Linked DNA regions of Homo sapiens: all the other regions are linked to region 1. Evidence: promoter capture Hi-C in human tissues and cell types (Jung and others, 2019). All regions are on one chromosome and are shown on one strand. Each heading gives the region's core, a stretch centred on a gene start or on the middle of the fragment in contact. The rest is flanking DNA. Distances are from core to core; before and after follow the strand shown.

Region 1 (2,949 bases), core at 119-2,618:
CACCCTCTTGTGTTCTTTGAAAGTGAAAATATTTTCCTGTAATAAAAATATATGACGTGGTTTATGTAAAACTTGAATTATGTAAAATGAAGGCTAGGGAAATTATTTCATGTATTTTCAGATACTTTCTCCATGCTTTTATTCGTCCTCAAGAATTGCCAGAAAATGGCATAAGTCAAAAGAGTATTCTGTTTCTATTGAGAATATCAAATTGGAATACAATTTAAAATATTTTTAAGTAGTTCCCACTTTTATATTAAATTAACAGAAAAAATAGGGGATTCAGAAGAAATCTTTGGAGGTACAGGGTTAAGACATGACCCCCATACGATGTTTCAGTGATTTTCCCAAGGCCACCGAGGTGCCTGACACTGAGAACTCCTTTGTCCTCAGCGGCACACCTGGCTGCCACCCCACCCTTCCTGTCACATCTTAGGAGTCAGAACTGCGACGGGAGCTAGCCCAGGACACCGAAGGGGGGATCCTAAATGCAGGTTGCATGCTGACGTATGATTTTTATTTGGAAAAACCTCAAAATAGTAAATGAAGAGTAGAGAGAGTGCAGTTTAAATAGGTAGAGATTCGTGATAGGAAGTGGACTGCAGCAGAGGCGACATGAAATTATCTGGGGAAGCCAGATGAAGCCTTTCCGAAAGGAAGCGAGCATTTGTTAAATTACATGTTCATTCATCAAATTCACTGAGCTCCCCTTGAGATCCAAACACGGTGCCGGACACTAAGGATACACAGATAAATTCAGCATCGCCTCCGCTTTCCAAAATCTGGCAACCCAGCAGGAAAGAACAGCATGCAAAGAGATAAGAGTACCCGGGGAGCCACGGTCCAAGGTGCAAAGGCGGAGCCTAGGAGGAAGGGATCACCTGTGTCAGCAGGGGTCAGGGACGGGCTTCTGGGTTTGGGTGCACGCGTCCAAAGGAGTGCAGCCTTTATCCACAGGTGCAATTAGAACACCCATCTCACACTGCTGAAAACTCAGATATGGCACTGCTGACCACCGCCCCACGATGCGACATCAGGGGTCAGATATTAGGCTGGCGCTGTGCAGATAAACAAGTGTATATGTTGGTGCGCCAGGAAGACAAAACACGCGCCTGGAGAGGCCAGGAGAGCGGGACTGGAGGGTTGTGGGACGCGCGGGACCCTCGGGCCGCCTTCCGCCGCCGCCCGGTGTCACCAGAACCCAGCCTGTTTACCAGCGGCCCCGCCCGCCCCGGCCCGGCAGGGCAGGTCGGGGCGGGCGCGCTCTGAGTCACCGGAATCTAGGTGGGGCCGCCCGGAGCGGCGTCCTCGGGAGCCGCCTCCCCGCGGCCTCTTCGCTTTTGTGGCGGCGCCCGCGCTCGCAGGCCACTCTCTGCTGTCGCCCGTCCCGCGCGCTCCTCCGACCCGCTCCGCTCCGCTCCGCTCGGCCCCGCGCCGCCCGTCAACATGATCCGCTGCGGCCTGGCCTGCGAGCGCTGCCGCTGGATCCTGCCCCTGCTCCTACTCAGCGCCATCGCCTTCGACATCATCGCGCTGGCCGGCCGCGGCTGGTTGCAGTCTAGCGACCACGGCCAGACGTCCTCGCTGTGGTGGAAATGCTCCCAAGAGGGCGGCGGCAGCGGGTCCTACGAGGAGGGCTGTCAGAGCCTCATGGAGTACGGTGAGTGCCCGCCGCCGCCGCCGTCGCCGCCTCCAGGAAGCCCTCGGGGCCGCGGCCTGCAAAAGCCGCCGCGCGTGATGGGCCCTCACAGGGTCGGGGGAGCCAGTGCTTTTCAGAATGCCTGTTTAGGACGAGCTCGGGCTCATGCATCCGACCTGAACCAAATGCAGCAGCAGTAGCTTTGGGTGGCCAACACCAAGCTCAGAAACAGAAAAAAAAAAAAGGCCGTAGTTCAAACTGTATAGTTTTTTTCCTGGGTTTTGTCGGTTACGTACGAAAGATTATTTCAAGCATTGCAAGTTTAGATGAGTAAATATAATGAACAAAGTTTCTTGGAGACCTGAAATTTCTTCCCATTTCTCTTCCTTCTCGTTTCTTCTTATGATTAAAATATAAATATTGAAATAACGTGCCTTCCCTAATATCAGTGGATTCGTTCAACTTGATATAGCTGAAAAAACTTTCTCATTTAAAAAAGCCCTTTCAGGCAGTTTTAGCAGTTAACGTTTTCAATAGATATTTCAGTCTACTTTACCGGTCAGGCTAGTTCTTGTTAGCTCTTGTTCTAGGGCGTGTCCTTTGGTTTAAGCATGGCATTGTTGTTTAGAAAACTTAATTATTTTAATCCGATTTGAAATCTAAAAAGCAAACACATTCCCTACACTCGCGACGTGAAGCAGAGTTGACAAATTTAATGTACCTAGCAGGTGAAGTACTGTATGCCATTTTCCCAGCATGGAGGAAGCTCCCTGCTTGCCTTGCTGAAAGTCAGGACTGGAGCATAGTTCTTGTCTGAGAAGGCATTTTCTTTCACAGTGGGAAGCCCCCTCTCCTTTCCTGGGGGTGGATGGGAATCACAGCTGGGGTCTACTGTGATTAGCAATGTGTGTGGGGGTGGAGATGGGGTCTGTGAGAGCCTAATAAAACCTTAAAGCCAAATGGGCTTTACCTACCGGGTTTAATAGTTTTAAACACAGACAGCAAGCTACCCTGCCTGTTTTCATTTCTTACTATTACCATTGACTTGATTTTTTTCTTTGAAGTGGCCCAGGGCTTCCAACCCAATCCTGTTTATTTGTGTTTCCGGGGGACTATATCAGCAACTTGGTGCCCTTTCTTTTGTGTAATCCTTTGGACGTCACTTCCCCACAAAAGGAAGCATGGTCCCCATTAGCCAGGTAATAAAATGTAAACACTGCAGAAAATTCCAGCTTTCTTTGCAGTTTGTGTGTTTTCTTCTCTGAAAACCCATACACTGTGCCAGCTCAGGTTTGTATCATCTCCAGTGT
Region 2 (2,769 bases), core at 270-2,769, 200 kb before region 1:
TACAAGGGGCTCTGCCTTTTCCACTGATCCCAGGCCCCAAACAAATAATTCCACTTTAGAATTCACAGAAGAAAACACAGGCTGTTTTCAATGTCCTCTATGTGATGGTTTATTTTAGATGTCAACTTGGCTGGATTAGGGGAGACCCAGATCACTGATAGAGCATGATTTCTGGGTGTGTCTGTGAGGTTGGTTCTGGAAGAGGCTGGCATTTGAATCAGACTGAGTAAGGGAGCTCCACCCTCACCCAGTGTAGGCAGACACCATCTAATCAGCCAAGGCCCAGGAGAACAAAAGGCAGAGAAAAGGAGAATTCTCTGTGTCTCTGTCTCTGGAGCTGGGATATCCTTCTCTTGTCTTAGAACTACAGGTTCTCGAGCCTCTGGCTTTGGATTAAGAGTTACACCATCAGTGCCCCTCATTCTGAGGCCTTTGAACTTGAACTGAGCCATGTTATCGGCTTCCTTGGTTTTCCAGCTTGCAGATGGTCTATCGTGGGACTTCTCAGCCTCCATAATTGTAGGAATGTTCTAAGATTTCCAACCTTAGATTAGTCAATATTATATTAAATAATTGCCCTTATGCAGAAACCTATTCTCAGTGTCATATGATTAGCAGCTTGAGTTTGATTTCCCAACTTTTTAGCAAAAGTTAAGAATTCCTCCTACCCCAGGCTTAATTAATTATAAAATATATTTTCTAAGTATAGAAGTCCCCCTTCTTGAAAGCCTCGTGTATTTCAGAAACTACCCAGATGATTTTATACTTAATTTAGAAACACCTTAACAAAATATATTCTCACTATACAACATGACCTGCAATAGGAGATTTTTATATAGCACAGGTTTATGTAGGGTGAAATGAAAGGGAAGGACACTTAGTTAAACCAAAAGGTTTAGAAGAAACTTAAAATTTTGAGAGTTTCCATAGAGTGTGATTAGACCTGGAGCCCGAGAACCTTTTACAAAGGGAAAATACAAGGTTGATATTATTCTTTGACAATAAAGTTAGTATAAAATAATAAATAAATAGATTAAAAATATGCTATAAGATATTCCATGAATACAATGAAAAGTATCAACCTTACACAAAATTCAAGCTTCTTTCACAGTAAGTTTTTGCTTTTGAGTACACAACACCACCATCTGCTTGTACCCCAGGATGCGTGCTTGTTCCAGACAGTCAGTAGGCCCTGTCTCCAGCCACAGAGCCACCCTGGAAAGGGTCCTCAGCAGTTACAAGGCATGAGAGAAGGGTTCTGCTTACCCAGTCCTTTGACAAACTTCATAAGGCACATGATGTAGCTAGTGGCTGCATTAGCAAAGACCTGGATGTTGTCAGTATTGAGAAAAGCTTCAAATACATCAAACACTGGAGCTTGGCCTTTTCCTAAGGGAGGAAGATTATAGAATTGTAAGAAAGTAAGTTTCTGCCCTCGGGTTTGCCAGGGTTGCCCATATTCCCAGCACGTTCCACTGAGACAGATCTTGAGAAAGATCTACTGGGGAGATGCCTGGGTTTTTTATTGGGCCATTGGCTTGGCTCCAGCATGGTGCTCAGCTCTGCCGGCAGGGGAGCAGCTCGGCAGAGAGATGAGGGCTGAGCTGGCCGAGTGCAGAGCTGAGGCAATGTGCTGGTCTATAGAGCAGGGAACCATGTGGCCTCTGGAATGCTCCTGCACAGGTATTTGTAGATTATCTACAGGGCACAGCAGGGCAGGTTTAGATAGACCTTTGGTGGCATATATGAGTTTCTTTATATCTATGCAGAAAAAGAGCACAGAAGGCCTGAGACCACTTTTCTTTTAGAAAGCTTGCTTGCAAAATTGGCCTTTGGCGGGTGTCTGGGAACTCAGCTCTCAGAGTACTCCCAGGCCACAGTTAACTGATAAGAGTAGTTCACCGTGCCTAGACTGTTCATACAAACCATACGGTTTATGGTGAACACCTGCTTTCCTGTTGGGAGTCTGGGATTTTGGTAATGTGCTAGGCAAAGGGTATGTAAGTGGCCAGTCCCCAGCTAGATCTCTAATGGGCTTCAACAGGCAGAAACATTGCAAACATGTTGCTGTGTTTTCACTGCTGGGGGAAGAATGTCTTCTGTGTGATCCCTCCTGGGAGGGCGAGAGCACAGGGAAGCTGGTGCATAGATTCTTCCAGACTCTGTCTGTGTCATAACCTGTTGTGTCCTTCCTACGTTGCTAAAACTTAGTCACGAGCTGTGTAATAAATCTCAACATAACTATATGCTGGGTCCCATGAGTCTTTCTGGTGGGTTTCTGAGTTTAGGGGTGGTCTTGGGAACCTCTGAGACAACACCCCTGGGCCCTGGGCATGCTTTATGGGTACCCATCCATTTCCAGCAGACCGAATCTCCCTAATTCTGGTTACTCTGTGTTATGATACTTTTCTGCTTCTTACTAGCAAATGGATAACATTTTTCTTTTTGGCTTTAGACGTGAACTCAACACAGCAATGTGTAAGTGAAACAACAGAAGTCTCTCAGCCTTATTGTCCAATTGTCAGCAAGAACAGGGCCTGACAATGCTCAGGGCTCTCAGCCTGCTGGCAGAACTCAGGACTCATGTTCCTGCTACACCACATTCTTTCCTGCTGATAAAACATGGCTGACAATCTGTCTTCCCTATTGTTCAATTTTTTTTTTTTAATAGCATGAAACTTGGCACAGAGAATTAATGCTGAATAGCAAGAATCATCCAAACATTCTTACCCATGGAGTAGTCACCAACCAGGTACTCCTTCATCTCTG
Region 3 (3,107 bases), core at 428-2,927, 250 kb after region 1:
ATCAAAGACCCTCCACTGGGAAGGAGGCAGTTGGTGTAATGACAAGTACAGTTCCTTCTGTTGCACTTTGCCTGAAAGCGTGCGATGCTGACATCTCAAACTTGTCAGAAAATCCACTATCCCTGTGAATTCTGTTTTATTTCCTGTCAACACTTGGCTGAAACACTTGGGAAAGTAATTTTATTTTACATCATAAATATAAATATTCAATTCTTAGTTTCATTTATGTTTCTGTGAAGGCTGCTATTAATGACCAAATAGGATGTTAGAAAGCCCAGAAATGGGTGTTATTAGGAACGAGCTAGAAAGCAGTGTTGGTTTTAGCAGTAAGCCCGGTGTTTCTGAGATAAATTAGTTCCTGTTACTTGGAATAGTGCAAGCCATTGTGAAAATTTGCCTTGACATTCCCCTTTCTCATTTGTCCCTCAATCCCTTCAGTCTAGTTTGGGGTCTCTATAATCCTGCTCCTTTGGCTGCCAGCCATCTCCATAAAAAAAGAATTTGAAAGGCTTCCATTCTTTCAGAGACCTGTTTCCCGGGACTGGCTGGTAAGATAAATCATGCTCATTTTTCAAACAGATTGTGATGTGTTACTGTGTTATATTTCTTGATAAAATGTTCTTACAGAACTTCCTAGAGCTTAATGGTGGAAATTCCAAGCACTTTAGCAGGCTGGAGAAAGAGCTGTGGTATTTCTATGATTCTGAGAGTCCATGTTTGTAAGACACACTATGGATTTAATAACAAGATTGGGAGGGGAACAACCTTATTGTAGGAAATGTACACACGTTTCTTCCTTTACTCACTTAGCCTATGTTTATTGATGTGATGACATTTCTCTTTCTTCTTCACTGTCACCATTCATGTTTGATTCGAAGGCTTCTTGGAGTTTTATGATTCCTCTGAGCTGATTTTGATCCTTGACAATTGTGTACTGCAGTGCTCAGATAGGCTGTTTGCAGTAATCTGCCTCTTCTGGCCTTTTTAGTAATTTAGAATTGACTATAACATTACATATTCCTTTAAACTTCTCTTGAAGGTCTGCTGGAAATAGAGATAGTCCTTTAAGATGCTCTTTTCATTTTTTTTTTTTATCATACTTTAAGTTCTAGGGTAAATGTGCACAACGTGCAGGTTTGTTACATATGTATACCTGTGCCATGTTGGTGTGCTGCAACCATTAAAAAGAAAAAAAAAAAGATGCTCTGTTTAATAACAGCTTTGGAAAGGAATTTGGCTCCCTATAAGCCTTTCATCATGAGAGTGGGCCTATTTTTCCATGATGCATTTAAACAGCTTTATCTCTATATGGGGACCAAACGGGCCATTGCTTTACCAGAAACAATGGACTTTAGTTCTGCGTTTTTCTCTGTTAGCTTTAGTCTAGCATCATAATGTATCTTTTGAAAGATATTTTGTTTAAGAGATAGAAATCCAAATTTAAGTTAAATGGAACTTCTTGTTCAGCTAGCCATGTAAATGAGTCAACAGGGTGTCTCCATGTTCCCTTATTCTGCTGAGCTCAGGCCAGCTTGCCCCAGGGCCCCTGCACTTACTGTTTTCTCTACAGGGACTGCCCTTGCAACTGCTCAGCACTCAGCTTTCTGCTTACATGTTATTTAATCAGAGAAACCTCCCTGACTTACCCCACTTCCTGATCTTTCTGTCTTGCTTTCTTTGTAACATTTATCACAATTGAAAATTCTTTATTTATCAGTTCAATTGTTTATCATCTACCTTTCCCTACTAGAATGAGACTCTTTGAGAGTCTATCATTGATGCTTGCCTATCATTGTACTCTGTACTCCCTGTGCCCAGAAATGTACGTGATACAAAACAGGCACTCAGTGAACAACAGTTTGTTAGATGAATGAAAGGATTGGGAGGAAGAATGAAAAGATACCTTTCCTTTAGACATTTCTAAGCTTGCAAATGCACAGGCAATGAGAACCACCTCTCTTCACTCCCTGGCATTTGAGGCTTTTTACGTAAAAATTTAAACTAATGATTATATTAGAAATTTTTAAATGTTTAAAAAAAGTATGTTGTAAAATTGAGGAAATATAGTATTTTGAGAGTCCAAACACGTTCATGCAGTTGATTGAGCCTAAGTGTTGGGTTAATCCTAGTAAGTGATTGATCTTTTTAGGTAGGTAAGGGAATAAACAGAAGATCAGAAAAGAAGAGGTACTACTATTACATTTTAAGTTTCCAAATATACTACTAAGTGTCTCTAGTAAAACTTAACTCATTGAAGAAGAAAATAGTCTGACTCTAAAAAAAGAGTGTGTGTTCCTGAGAAAGACTAAACCAGTTATTTTCTCCTTTCATGTTTGAATGAATAACCATCAGCAAGGGAGAGATGCACTGACCTTCTGCCAGGTATGTTTAGTATGGATGTTTCTATGCTGTTGACAAACAAAAAAAAAAAAAAAAAGAAAAAAGAAAAAAAAGCCAATCTCTGTAAAATATTTAAAGACATTTATTCTGAGCCAAATGTGAGGACCATGACCCATGACATAGCCTCAGGAGGTCCTGAGAACATGTATCCAAACACAGTGGTTGGGTTACAGCTTGATTTTACACAGTTTAGGGGGACAGAATTTATAGGCAGACATCAATCAGTGTATGTAACGTATATGTTCATTTGGTCCAGAAAGGTAGGACAACTTCAAGGAGGGTGTTGGGCTTACAGCTGATAGTTGAATTCAAAGGTGTTCTGATTGGCAGTTGGTTGAAACAGTTAAGTTTCTTTCTAAGGAGTTAAGACAGAAATGCTTAGGGTTAAGATAAGGAGGGTTGTGGAGGCCAAGGTTCTTGTTATGAAGATGAAGCCTTCTGGTAGCAGCCTTCAGAAAGAGTAATAGGTGGTAAATATCTCCTATCAGACCTTAAACGGTGCCAGACTCAGTTGAATATCTCCTGGATCAGGAAAAGACCTGGAAAGGAGAGAGAATTATCTACGGAATGGAGAGTTTCCTCACAACAGACAGCTTTGCCAGGTCATTTCAAAATGTATCAAATAAATATATTTTGAAGTAAAATACTTGGATTTCTTTCAGGGCCTCCTGTCACATTGCTATCTTATTGCTACAAAAAGTCTGTTT

What was found. Contacts are between HindIII fragments. The study calls those that stand out against the background at their distance.
Region 2: a fragment that was not itself captured here is called in contact with the fragment with the promoter of PERP in region 1 in 1 of the 25 tissues and cell types used here (bladder).
Region 3: a contact is called between a fragment that was not itself captured here and the fragment with the promoter of PERP in region 1, in 1 of the 25 tissues and cell types used here (bladder).

The regions. Positions count from the first base shown.
Region 1 is chr6:138,105,838-138,108,786 of GRCh38, reverse strand. PERP (p53 apoptosis effector related to PMP22) reads left to right here and starts at 1,368. Exons shown (of 3, transcript NM_022121.5): 1 at 1,368-1,660. The coding sequence starts at 1,447. RefSeq lists a silencer at 1,190-1,239. The HindIII fragment of the contact is 18,311 bases long and covers 1-2,949 here.
Region 2 is chr6:138,307,359-138,310,127 of GRCh38, reverse strand. ARFGEF3 (ARFGEF family member 3) reads right to left here. Exons shown (of 34, transcript NM_020340.5): 23 at 2,731-2,769; 24 at 1,267-1,389. Among named protein-coding and RNA genes, the nearest start is that of SMIM28, 69 kb to the left of the region's middle. The HindIII fragment of the contact is 4,091 bases long and covers 1-2,769 here.
Region 3 is chr6:137,860,257-137,863,363 of GRCh38, reverse strand. The region is part of intron 3 of WAKMAR2 (wound and keratinocyte migration associated lncRNA 2); the gene reads left to right. Among named protein-coding and RNA genes, the nearest start is that of TNFAIP3, 5.4 kb to the left of the region's middle. The HindIII fragment of the contact is 5,917 bases long and covers 1-3,107 here.